2 separate regions of the Homo sapiens genome follow, and region 2 is linked to region 1. Evidence: promoter capture Hi-C in human tissues and cell types (Jung and others, 2019). All regions are on one chromosome and are shown on one strand. The core of a region is centred on a gene start or on the middle of the fragment in contact, and the rest is flanking DNA. Distances in the headings are between cores, read along the strand shown.

Region 1 (6,459 bases), core at 2,164-4,663:
TGATTTCTGGAAAAGTAGCAGACTGTGAAACTATTAAATAACTACTTGCACTTATTAAAAATTAAAACATATCCCATTCTGCCTGGGCGACGTGTGTCGCGCCTGTAATCCCAGCACTTTGGGAGGCCAAGGTGGGCAGATCGCTTAAGCCCAGGAGTTTGAGATCAGCCTGGACAACATGGCGAAGCTCCGTCTCTACTAAAAATACAAAAGTTAGCCAGGCATGGTGGTGCATGCTTGTGGTCCAAGCTACTTAGAAGCCTGAGGTGGGAGGATCACTTGAGCCTGGGAGATCGAAGCTGCAGTGAGCCGTAATTGTGCCACTGCACTTCAGCCTGGGTGACAGAGTGAGACCCTGTCTCAAAAAAAAAAAAAAAAAGAAAAGAAAAGAAAAGAAACAAACAAAAATACCACATTCTAATCACATATAGGCTTGTGTAGGGGAATTCAAACGGAAACACAGCCCCAAAAAATACACCTTGGCCCCCAGTGAGCAATTTTTATTAAGGAAAGATGTGCTTTCTGGGGAATTCAAAGCCCAGTCTGTTGATTGCCTAAGTGACATGGAGAAAAAGGACAAATCTTTGGAGTCAAAGGGATTACAGCTAAAATTATTATTTAGGATTATATGGTGTAAGCAAATTCCATAATTCTCTTGCCCTCTGTTTTCTACTCTGAAAAATAGTAATAATATCTATCTTGCAAGATTAGGCATGCTAATAATAATAATCACACTGAAAATGGTAACTGTGTATAAGAATATTTTCTATCAGAAAACTCCCTATGAATCCGTGGAGGGGCTTTATTTTTCAATTCTGCTATTATGCAAGTGCCTCTTGAGTTTGGATTAGGAAGCTGTTAACATTTATTTCTCTCATGATGCTGCTACTTAGATGTTACTTAGTCTGGTTTAAACCCTTGGAAATGTGACCTCAAATAAGCACTCAGAAATATTTAAAAGCTACTTAACTTTACATTTAATATGTTTTAATTTCTTGAGTTGAATTCTCACCTCCTCCAATTTTTATTTGTTCCCCTCAAAACTATTTTCTGAAATGACTCTTTCTCCTGGAATAGAGAATTTTTTCCAAGAGTGTGAATTTACTTGTGGGAATGAATGGGTCTTATAACCTTGGAGTCTTTAGACAAATAACAACCCTAAACAGCCCATATCTTTAAATCAATGTATATTTTCTAATAAGGGAGTTGTCAAAACAAAATTTCTAATTTTTCAAATTGCTTTTAATGTGACTAAAACATGAAACTGTTTATAGTTTATTGGTCTCACTGTTTAAAGTAAAGGGTCTGGCTAAAGGTTTTAATAAACAAAATTATATAACCTCAACTCCAACCATCTCCATCTCATTCATCTCTCTCTTTCTCTCTCTCTCTCTCACACACACACACACACACACATACACACACACATACACACACCACATCGCTGCAATCAAAGAAAAATAGAGTATACTAAAACTGGCTTGGCAAACTTCTAATTAACGATCAAAACTCCTTGGAGCTAAGGTGCCATTTTCCCAATAGGCTGCTATTTTTAAAATATTTTTCTTTGAAAACAACAGCATGATTAATCTCACCATTTCCACTTAAATTACTTATATGAAAACAGCAGTGCACTATGGGCAATTATTAAAAACACTTTATTATGTATAATTTGTACATGCTTCAATTTGTGTCACTTAGGGTGATTTATTTTCCAGGTTGTAATGACATCTACCGAGATTAGCTAGATCTAATTTTCATTCTGCCATGCCACATACAAAAATACAATTTTCAAACAAAGCTTCCCTTCTTTACACAAAGGTACACAAGAGTTTGTCAGACAAATAAAATAAGAATACTTCACACACGTATCAACACCATACAAGGCATTATTCTTCACACAGTAACATCTAATGTGTTCTTTTATTTTTGAAACAGCAGGAAAAGAGCCCTTTCCCTTCAGAGGAAAATAAAAACTTTATCTGTTGCTTAAGCCAAACTCCAGGGAGGAAGGTGTGGTCCTCTGGGGAAAGTAGAGGGATGGGGATGTATGGAGGAGAATGGACGCCCCTTCATAAGCACTTCAGGAGGAAGGAATTGCAGGAGGTTCCTCGGGGACAGTCACACAGCTTCCCGATCCTTGCCCCTTTCCTCACTGCACACTGCTCACCGGCGTCACACTGAAACAACAAAATGTGTGGTCATCGAGTATGAACAAACCCAGGTTCCCAACAGGCAAGTCTCACAGTCAACGCAATTTCTGTCTCTTGAAAGGGGCAATTGGACCCCATCACCATCACAAGAGGTCTACGTACAGTCAGATCTGAAACAGGGAGCCTTGTGCTTATAACCTCAGTGAGAGTACATTTTTTAAAGAAACTTACATTATTAGTTTTATCCTAGTTTCTTCCACCTTTAAGTGGCGAGGGTTGGGGGGCGTGGGAAGGGGAGCATCACATTTCCTGGCTCCTTTTCTTGCCCTCTCAGAGGGGAAAAAAATCAGACCTTTTTCCTGAGCAACAAACAATAGACTTACACTTTCTTACAACCCCTGTTCCTGCTTTCCCATTTCCTCACCCGGGAAGGAAGAAGGAGCCCACAGAATCCTGCAAGCCCATTACCTAAGTTATTTAGCCACATCCTACGGAGAAGACTGTGTGTACGATTCAAGGCGGTGTACTTTCTCTTGGAAAAACACGGGAAGGGAGTGACCACAAACCTTACCATGGGGACTTGGCCATACTTCTTCTCATAGATGGGAACACGTTTACTCTTGAGCTTCTTCAAGACTTCTTGCAGCGCTTCGATCTGCAACACACCGCTTCGGAGCCTGAAGTTGCCGCCTTGGCTGCGAGCCCAGCCCAGGTGCGCACTTCCAGCCCTAGTTATAAGGAGCCCCGGACCCACACGCACTCTGCGGTGGGACTCCGCGGACACAGGGAATGGTCGAGGGGTGGAAACTTAGCGGACGCTGTCCCAGGTACTGACCGCGGGTCTCTGAGCCGCTGGGGTCCCTGTTGCTCAGAGGGGCCGGGATGAGGGATTCGCTCAACAGACTGCCAGGAGCCCGTGAGCTCGAGACGCTCTTCGGATGGCAGTGGGTGCCTGGGCGTTGCGCTCAGCTCCCCGCGCCCTGACTCTGGGAATAGGAGTGGGGGTGGGGGGAGGAGGGAGGCGTGCAAGAGAAGAGACAAGGCGACAGCTCAAGGGGGTCGAGAGCGAGGGGAATACCGACCAGCTCCTTCTCGTGGGAGGCATCATCCACGGCAGAGTAGATGTCCAGGGCTCGGGGCTGGAGCTCGGCGTCCTCCTGGGCACGGGTACCCAACAGAGGTAGCATCAGCAGCAGGGCGGCGCCCAGGAGGGGCAGCAGCCTCACGCGGGAGCTCTCCATCGTTCTGAAACTCGTCGTTGCTGGGGCACCACGCGCTCCCACCTTTTATAGTGAGCCCGAGCCCCCGTGCAGGAAAGAGGGAGGAGGCGAAGAAGGAAGGGGGTGTGGAGGAGGGCCCGGGTCAACCGTCTGTAGGCAGCGCTCCGCCGGCGCTTGACGTCAATGCCCGCCGGGTTCCAGGCGCCTGGGAACGAGGCTCTGCGCACAGATGGGCTAGAGCGCAGAGAACAGGACCCTGCGCCCCCAAAGGCTGTCAGTCTCACGGCAAGGGATGCTCCCCGAGGGGCCTGAGCTGAAGCCGAGGGGCTAGAGGTGAGGGACGGGAAGCGGGAGGGGCCTAGGAAATGGAAAATGCCTTCGGGTCAATGCACAGGCAGGAGAGTCGTTTCCCAACACCTAGCAGTGGTGACAGCTGCAACATCCACCTCGCCAGCCCTGCCTTGCCTCGCACCCCAACCCCAAGTGTGGCGGTGAGAAGGGGGTGTTGCCTCCAGACAGCCACATTTGCTGAGCACCTTACTCTGTGGGGTAGGGGAAGCAAACATACTATACAAAAGAAAGAGAAATAGTGGCCCTCCACGTGATGGGTTCTATGATGGAATCTGTGTGACAATAGTTAAAAGAAGAGAGGGAAAACAGACAAACCCGGATTCAGCAGTGGTGTTGGAAGTGCAGAGAGCCAGGCTCTGGTTCCCATCCTGGCTACACCACGTAAAAGTTGTATGACTTTGAACAAAATGAAGAACCTCTCCAAGCCTCAGCTTTCTCTTTTGTAGATCTAGGATTAAAAAGATATACCTCACAAAGTCATCAGTAGGATGAAATGAGAGATTAAGTATGTCAAACTCCTGGTTCTTAGCTAAGCTTCCCTGTCCCTCCTTTTTGAACTTTGAGGCTGCCCAGGCAAATTTAACCATCCCCAGAACCTCCCCCCACCCACCACCAACCCTTGGTATCCAAGAAGCCTGTCTAGAAAGAGAGTAAAAGAGTGAAAAGAAAGACAGCTCCATGATTATGAAAATATCTCCAGAGATCAGAAGTCAATGGTGAACCAGCTCCCCAACAACTTGGGAGAACAATGTGGCTTTTTTAAAAGTTGAGATCCTTACAGCCTGAATGCACAGGAAAATTCCTGTAGGAAAAGCAATGCTTTCCCGCTTAGACCTGCTTGCTCACCTGGCTTCCTTCACCACACCATCTTTCCCTCAACTGTTCCTAAATTCATCCACTCTTCTCCATCCCCATTACTACAACCCAGTCCTAGACAGCTGCCCCAGTCAACTTAATGTCTACCACTTAATCCCCACCCTATCTTCTCTTGCCTTCCTCTACTCCATAGTTCACCACCAACCAGAGTATTTTTCCCCTTAAAATACACTAATGACTCCTAATCTTACTAAGCACTGAATCTAGATTCCTCATCCTGACTTGCAAAGCATTATATGATCTTCACCCCTCTCCACCTCATGTTCTACCACTCTGCCCCAGACTCCTCCACTCCAACCTCACATGGCCTTCTTTCTGGTCCTCTAGCAGGCCAATCTCATTCATACTTTGATGTCTTTGCACTTACCCCTCCTTGAAAGGTCTTCCTGTATTTCCAAAAGGCTCACTACTTCTGTTATTTAAATCTCAGTGTAAATATCTATGACTACTCAATCCAAACCATCTATCAATACTTTTCTCCCACAAATTTATTGCATAGCAGATTATGTGGGTCATTAAGATAGTTTAATACACAATATATGCCTGGTTACTTCAACTATCAAGTATTTAATTGGTACTCAAATACTCACTGGGAAGCAATTCAAGAAGTGATATCTCTTCTAATGAATAGCACACATATTAACAGCATCAAAATATTTTGCTGTGGGGTAAACCCAACTTGAAAATGTATCTAACACCTCCCTCAGCTCTGCCTTCCACACATACCTTTTGATTCTGCACAAGAAAACTTCAGTGGCAGCACGTTTTACTGTTAAAACCTTACAGAGACATATTGACACTCACTGCAAAAACCATCTCCAGTGATCTTTAAACTATTCTAAGCTTCAGAAGAAAAATAATCTCAAATAAGATTTTAGCCTATTCTTCCTGAAGGATGTAGATATTGTCAATGCAATACTTTCTCTCCAATTTTGTTCTACCCAGACACAAGTAATAACTTTCCCTTTGTGCTACTTCTATTGGAAAAAAATCCAAAGTTTAAATCTTGCTGAACTTGAGTTGGTGCTATCATTTTCTTATAAGGAAGGCACATTTAGTTAAGGGGTTAGGGAAAGGACTCTTGGAAAATCCTGTGAAACAAGCCAGGGGCATCTTTGTCACTTACATACCACAGGCTTTTCTTCATCTTGAACAGAATGACTTTATAAACTGTCTTTAGCTAGCATGGTATAGTAAATTCTAGGCTATCTTCTTCCCAAAGACAACTTTTATGTAAGTTAAAACTCAAAAAGAAACAAAAGCATGAGACATTCCACAGTCTTCATATTATGCCCTGTTAGGAGAATTTGTATATTCTTACTACTTTGTAATGACTCCATTAGGGGAAAAAAGCCCATCACTGATGCCCCAAGCAATTAAAATCATATGGAATTTAACTACTACTTCTCACCCCAGATATAGAAAAGGGAGGCAGGTCACCTCATGAAAGAGAAGCAATGGCCAGGATGGGTCTTTGGAGATTTAATGTGAACAAATCTCTCTTAATCATCTTTTCTGAGATAGAGTAGGCCTCCAGTCCTGCTCTTTGAAATAGCTCAAGTAAAGAAATCTCATAAGCAGACAGCCAAGAAACCAGTGCCAGCAAGATCTACTTACAACATACTGCTATCTGAGAACATTTTAAAAACCTCTTCTTACTCATGCCTAACTCTTGGAGTCCTGAACTTTTCACTATAAAAATAACCCATCAATTGATTTGTGACTTGGCAAGAAAACGATGTCTGTATTGTTCTTGGAAAAAAGAAAACACACACACACACCCCTTAAAACATATGTGTTCAATATTACTAAATTAGAACCCTAGAGCCCTAAGATTTTAAGTAATGAGAAGGTCATGG
Region 2 (6,459 bases), core at 1,385-3,884, 50 kb before region 1:
AGCCTGGGCAACATAGCAAGACCCCATCTCAAAAAGACAAAAATGAACTCAGGATCATAGGCCTACATGTAAAAGCTAAAACTGTAAAATTCTTAGAAGAAAGAATTTTACAGGACTAAATCTTCCTGGATTAGGCAGTAGTTTCTTAGATAAAACACAAAGCATGAAAAGAAAAAAATAGATAAATTGGACTTACATCAAAATTTAAAATTTCTGTGTTTCAAATGATACTGTCAAGAAAATGAAAAGAGAACCCACAGAATGGGAGAAAATATTTGCAAATCATGTAGCTGCCAAGGGACTTCTATACAGAGCAAAGGACTCTTACAACTCAACAATAAGAAGAAGACAAAGAGCTCAACTATTTTAAATGGGCAAAGAATTTGAAAAGACAATTATTTGGAGAAGAAATACAAATAACCAAAAGAACATTTTAAATGTTCAACGGCATGTCATTGGGATAAAGAAAATCAAAACCATTTCATACCCATCAGGATAACCACAATTAAAAAAACAGAAAATAGCAAGTGTTGGCAAGGATATGAAGACATTTTAACCCTCATACTTTCTTTGTGGTATTACAAAATGGCACAGCTGATTTGGAAAACAATGTGATGGTTTCCAAAAAATGTTAAACATGGAGCTAACATGATCCAGCAATTTCACTCCTAGGTATATACAAAAAAAAATTTAAAACATGTGTCCACACAAAAACTTGTCCGCAAATGTTCATAGCAGCCATATTCAAAATAGACAAAAAATGGAAACAATTTAAATGTCAATCAACTGATGAATGGATAAACAAAATGTAATATGCCACTATAAGAGAATATTATTTGTCTATAAAAGGAATGAAATGGTTGGGCGCGGTGGCTCACGCCTGTAATTCCAGCACTTTAGGAGGCCACAGCAGGCGGATCAAGAGGTCAGGAGTTCGAGACCAGCCTGACCAACATGCTGAAACCCCATCTCTACTAAAAATACAAAAAAAAATTAGCCAAGTGAGGTGGCGGGCACCTGTAATCCCAGCTACTCAGGAGGCTAAGGCAGGAGAATCGCTTGAACCCGGGAGACAGAGGTTGCAGTGACCAGAGATCGAGCCACTGCACTCCGGCCTGGGCGACAGAGGGAGACTCCGTCTCAAAAAAAAAAAAAAAAAATGGGAATGAAATAGTGACACATGCTACCACATGAATAAACCTTGAAAACATTATGCTAAGTCAAAGAAGCTAGACACAAAAGGCAACATATTGTAGGATCATTTATATGAAGTTTCAGAATAGGCAAATCCATACACACAGAAGTAGATGCCCAGGTCTGGATGGGTGGAAGGGCAGAGAATGAAGAATGACTGCTAATGGGTGCAGGATTTCTCTTTGGGGTGATGAAACTGTTCTGTAATTAGATAGTGGTGATGTTTGCAGGTTGCACCATTCCAAGTATAGTAAAAATCACCAAACTGCACACATATAAAGGCTGGATTATATGGTATATAAATGATCAAGTAGAGAACAATTAATATACAGTAATTTTTAAGCAGATACACATCATAGATAGAAAATCATAGATAGAAAATCACAGGTAGAAAATGATGTGCAAAGGAATTTGACATCACTTCTGTCCCTGGGTCATGTATTCATCTTTCTCAATTTAAAAAAATACTGAAGTCATTTCATTCAAGATAAATTATCTTTATTATCTACTCTATCAGATTTCTTTCAAACTGAAAAAACAATACATGCTTGTATTGCCGCTTATTTTCCAAGAAAAAAAAATCCTGAGTATCAAAGAAAAACCCAACATTTGCCTTTCCCGTGACTCTCACTCCTGCTATTATCCCTTCCTGAAAACAAGAAATGTTAATTTAGTGTCCACATTTTTCTACATTCATATGAATGCACACAACTGAAAATATTCACACCAATAAAAGGCTTTTCTGATTTTACAAAAAATACAATCATTTATATACATTTCTCTGCAATGTACTTTGCTGGTGGCCTTTCCTATCGGTCATTGCATATAAATCGAACTCCTTATTAGTAGCTATGTAATATTCTAGAAATCTGGACATGCCACAGTTTATTCAATCACTCCCTATTGATGGCATTCAAGTTGTTTTACTTCGCTTTGTCACATTCAATGTGTATCTTTATACATATCCTTATAAGCTAATTCTTTTATTTTTGTAGGATAAAATCCTCCAATATAAGTTTTAAAGACTCAGAAAATCATTACTCGGCTTGGCAATAAAAAAGTTCATTATGTTTCATTAAGCATCCTGCTTGGTGGAATCAGGGGAAAATGTATTTATTTCTCAGCACTGAATCATTACCCTCTGTACAGATTACTTTTGTTTGCAAATACATAAACAAAATACAAATTGCCTATGTTCACCAAACAAAGCTTTAAATTCTAGCTGCACCAGGGAGCAAAGGAGGTATGGTGAGAGACACATTTCCTGGTACAGGAAATGAGCAGCAGGGTGAGGAAGCAGCTTGAGGAAGCACTGCTGGACCAAGCTTCACCTTTGCCTGCAAAATCCCCCTGAAAATAAACACTCCACAGGGGTCCTGAGTGCAGGGTTACAGTTAGGTTTGGGATTAGGCTTAGGTGAGAACCACAAGTCCTTTCAGACCATGCTTGCCCTTATTTAGCTCTCCAGTTTGCTTCTCTTGGTTGGCTGGAGCAGTTTTTTCAAGAAGGTAGCGTGGATGGTGTGATTCCTGCGCCCATACACATCTAAGAATAACTTTCTATTGCCATCACACACAAAAGACAACTTTGCTTATTTTAAACTTTACTTGTCTCCCTCCAAATTCTGTAGATACTGAAGTTTTTTAAGCCTTCTAGCATATAGTGATTGTGAAGATAACACAACTTTTGTTTATTTGCTGGTGTCATTAGAAGGTATTTAAAAATACTCCCATTCCAGCAGGTGTAGCTAAAAAGAGAAAAGAAAAAAAGAAGGTATTTTCAAACCTCCATAATTGTGTGCTCTGCTCCCTGCATTTTTCCCAGGAGTATGTGTAAAGGGGTGTCCGTGTGTGTGTGTGTGTAGAATATAAATAAAGTAAATTAATAAATAAACTCTCTGGCCGGGCGCAGTGGCTCACACTGTAATCCCAGCACTTTGGGAGGCCAAGGCAGGTGGATCATCTGAGGTCAAGAGTTTGAGACTACCCTGGCCAACATGGTGAAACCCTGTCTCTACCAAAAATACAAAAATTAACCAGGCGCAGTGGCATACGCCTGTAATTCCAGCTACTTGGGAGGCTGAAGCATGAGAATTGCTTGAACCTGGGAGGCAGAGGTTGCAGTGAGCCAAGATCATGCCACTGCACTCCAGCCTGGGCAACAGAGCAAGAGTGTCTCAAAAAAAAAAAAAAAAAAAAACTATCATTAAAATGGCCAACAGCTAAACCGTCTGGTCTAATGCACTCACAGCTTATCTAAACTAATAAAATAAGGAAGGAAGGTCATATGAAATATGCCCACAGCAACATGATTATATCAGTAATTGTGAGTCTTGAAGAGCCAAACAGAAAGGCCACAGAAAATTAGCCTGATGTGATAATTTAGAGATCTGATTTTGCTATTCTCTTACTTTATGTTATTCAATGCCACCAGAAGCAGCCATCCTACCCTGTTGTTCCAGAATGTTTAAATTATTTTTTGCCATCAGCTACTCAGTTTTTCAGAGCACCACCTTCTGGCGCACATAGAGGGAACGTAACAGTTGTTTTACACTGTTGGGATACTAACCCGCAATATGAAAGCGAATTTTCCCCCTTTTCCCCATTCTGGCCAGTTTCCCCGCTCCTCAAAAATCTACCTTTCTCTTAGGGTATCTTGCCAACTGGAGCAAAAGTGGAAGTTATAAGCAGAATATAGGGGAACTTAGAACCTAGAAAAGGTAACCCAACAGGTTTGAAAAAGAAACAAGGGCCAATCCTAGAATTTGTAAGAAGTGATAAAAGACATTATGGCATTGCAACTAGGATGAATGAGCAGATACAACTATATTCTGTCATTTTATTGCTCTGCTAAAGTTTCAGTTCCAGAGAGACACTCCTGTCAGTCTCAGGTTGCATTCCCATTTCTTGGCAGGAAAGGACAAAATATCTTGACTTATGGTTCCATTGTAATGACTCAAGTAGAGAGGAGTCAGTTTCCCAAAATAGCATCAGAGTGCTTTTAGGAGAAAAAACTACTCAATAATTCCTGCAATTGACAGATAAATTATCTTTTCTAAATAGATTTATAGGACTTTTTAAAAATCTGTATAATTCAAAATTTTTCTTTGAATATATGTAGATGTGGATCTCTTCTGTTTTCATCTGAAATGCAGTGAACCCCTGCAGCCTGCAAACTTAGGTTTTATTTCATCTTTTATGATTGCTTCTATTCCATGTGTTATGCTGTCTTCCCTAGAAACACAAAGTAATCAAATGTTAGAGGTTTCATTTTCTCTCTTTCCTTCTGCTTGTGCATTTTTTTCTGCATCCTAGAAAAGCTTCTCAAATTTGTTCAGTACATAACTGATTCTGATTTACAGTTAGGTACTGATCATGTTATTGTGCTCTTGGTTTACTTGAAAGCCTTCCATATCTCAACATGCTGTCTTCTTTCAGCCTGTTGTCTCATCATGGTGTTATGTTCCTGTTTCACAACACAATGCCTCATTGAATTCTATTATTGCAGATTCTAAACAATCTCCTGTAATTTTCTTCTTGTTCCTATAGGCTCTTCAGAGATAGAATCTTTCTATGAGGTTCCAGAGTACTGTCCTTTATCCATTGTTCTGCAGTATTTTTTTACTGGGCTCATGTGTTGCTGATGTTTACTCGTTCTCAAATGAGGCAAAATCTATCCATACTCCTTGAAAGCTAACAGGCAGGTGGTATTTGCAATTGACCCCATTCTCTCTCTACTTCAGTATGAATCAAAGAATCCACTCAGGTCTTTAAGGGATAGACCAATGTGTCCTGTTCACAGTTTATTTCCCAGATAGTCATCTTGAGAAATGACCTATTGGTGAAGTAGCATCTTTCCCTACCTCCATGGTCCAGTTCTTCATGATAAGCTTCACTGTGACTTAAAATCACACCGCTCGGCAGTATCTCCCGGTACCTGGACCTTGTGTTTTAGAAAGCCCCACTCTGACATTTTTTTGGATTATGTCTGTCTCTACCGCAAGAGGAATCTGCAAGACCAAGGGCATGTGCCCACCCAGAGCCCTTCTAGACCACTTCCTAGATGCTCAAGAGCCTTGAATTCTCTGCCCAAACAACCCCAAGCCTGCTTGCAGGACCTGTACAGGCCTTGTCCATAGGTGCATCCTCCCAGGGGTAAACCACACCACTGGTATTTACACTCCCAAGCCCAAAGAATGTCCAGGGCAGCTATTTGCAGAGGCTCTGGACATTCCAGGTGGGGCATCCACACACATGTACTCAAAGATGCTTGCAATGAAGGAGACAGTGATGGAAAGGGAAGGGGGCTCAGGTGGGGGCCAATGAGCTTGGGCCCAGCCTTCTCCTAGCCACCACATTTCAGCATGAAACTCCAAGGAGTTTGAAAATTCAAAATTTGAGCCTGGCCTTCCAGACTATTTTGAAAGCGTATTTGTCAAAGTAAGTGTTAGAACTTATTTTATCTAACCTTGAACGCTCGGCCCCAGGTCCTGTAAATATTAGGGGTGACCTAAGGAGCAACTTCTAAGGCTCATCCTGCCTCCTCCCACTCACAAAGAAGCAGCTACTTAGTTCCAGAAGCTCTTCGTAAGTATGTGTGTCAGTAAGTAAAACATAATCAAGAAGGGTCCAAGCTTGCAGTCCCTGGATGGATTGCCATCACACTCATGTGTGAGCAGGGCTCCCGAAGCTTTAAAACTGGCTGTGCTGTTCTCTTTGCTTTACCTACACTCTATCAGGCATCTTCTAAAATTAAACTGTTGCATCCACATTGAAAATCTCCTCAGGCAGGTGTCATCCACACCACCTCCTTCTCACCGCCTCAATGATCTCCAACAGTATTCTACAGAATTTTTAGCAACCACGGTGTAAACCACCTTCGTGTTCCAACCAGAACTCCTGGGATCTGTGTGTGTGGTGTGTGTGCACTCCTCCAGCTTCCGTGTGTCTTTACTTCTAACAGCCCATACCTGTGGCTCTTTTAGAGGACTGCCATCAGGCTACAAGGCCACTTTGCCACAACAGGCAGAAAACAAGGAACACTTGGGAATTTACATCTCCTTGTTTGGCCCTTAGACAATGATCAACTTGTATTGGAATATGAAACCCAGCTCCCTGGCCTGAGTCTGATCAAACTCTCAGGGTAACTTACCCACCAGGGTTCCTCGGATACATCAAGCCAAAGCTACCTCCCGCAGGGCTTTACCTGAAATCACACACTTCCGCTTCCCTGTCCTGCTTCCCCTGCTCCTCACCGGTTTCTCAT

The links. Contacts are between HindIII fragments. The study calls those that stand out against the background at their distance.
Region 2: a contact is called between a fragment that was not itself captured here and the fragment with the promoter of CARTPT in region 1, in 2 of the 25 tissues and cell types used here (mesenchymal stem cells and spleen).

Annotation. Positions count from the first base shown.
Region 1 is chr5:71,716,229-71,722,687 of GRCh38, reverse strand. It overlaps CARTPT (CART prepropeptide), which reads right to left and starts at 3,413. Exons shown (of 3, transcript NM_004291.4): 1 at 3,236-3,413; 2 at 2,725-2,808; 3 at 1,643-2,180. The coding sequence starts at 3,394. The coding sequence ends at 2,073. RefSeq lists an enhancer at 2,389-3,275. The HindIII fragment of the contact is 5,473 bases long and covers 1-4,851 here.
Region 2 is chr5:71,765,521-71,771,979 of GRCh38, reverse strand. No RefSeq gene overlaps it. Among named protein-coding and RNA genes, the nearest start is that of CARTPT, 49 kb to the right of the region's middle. The HindIII fragment of the contact is 4,329 bases long and covers 470-4,798 here.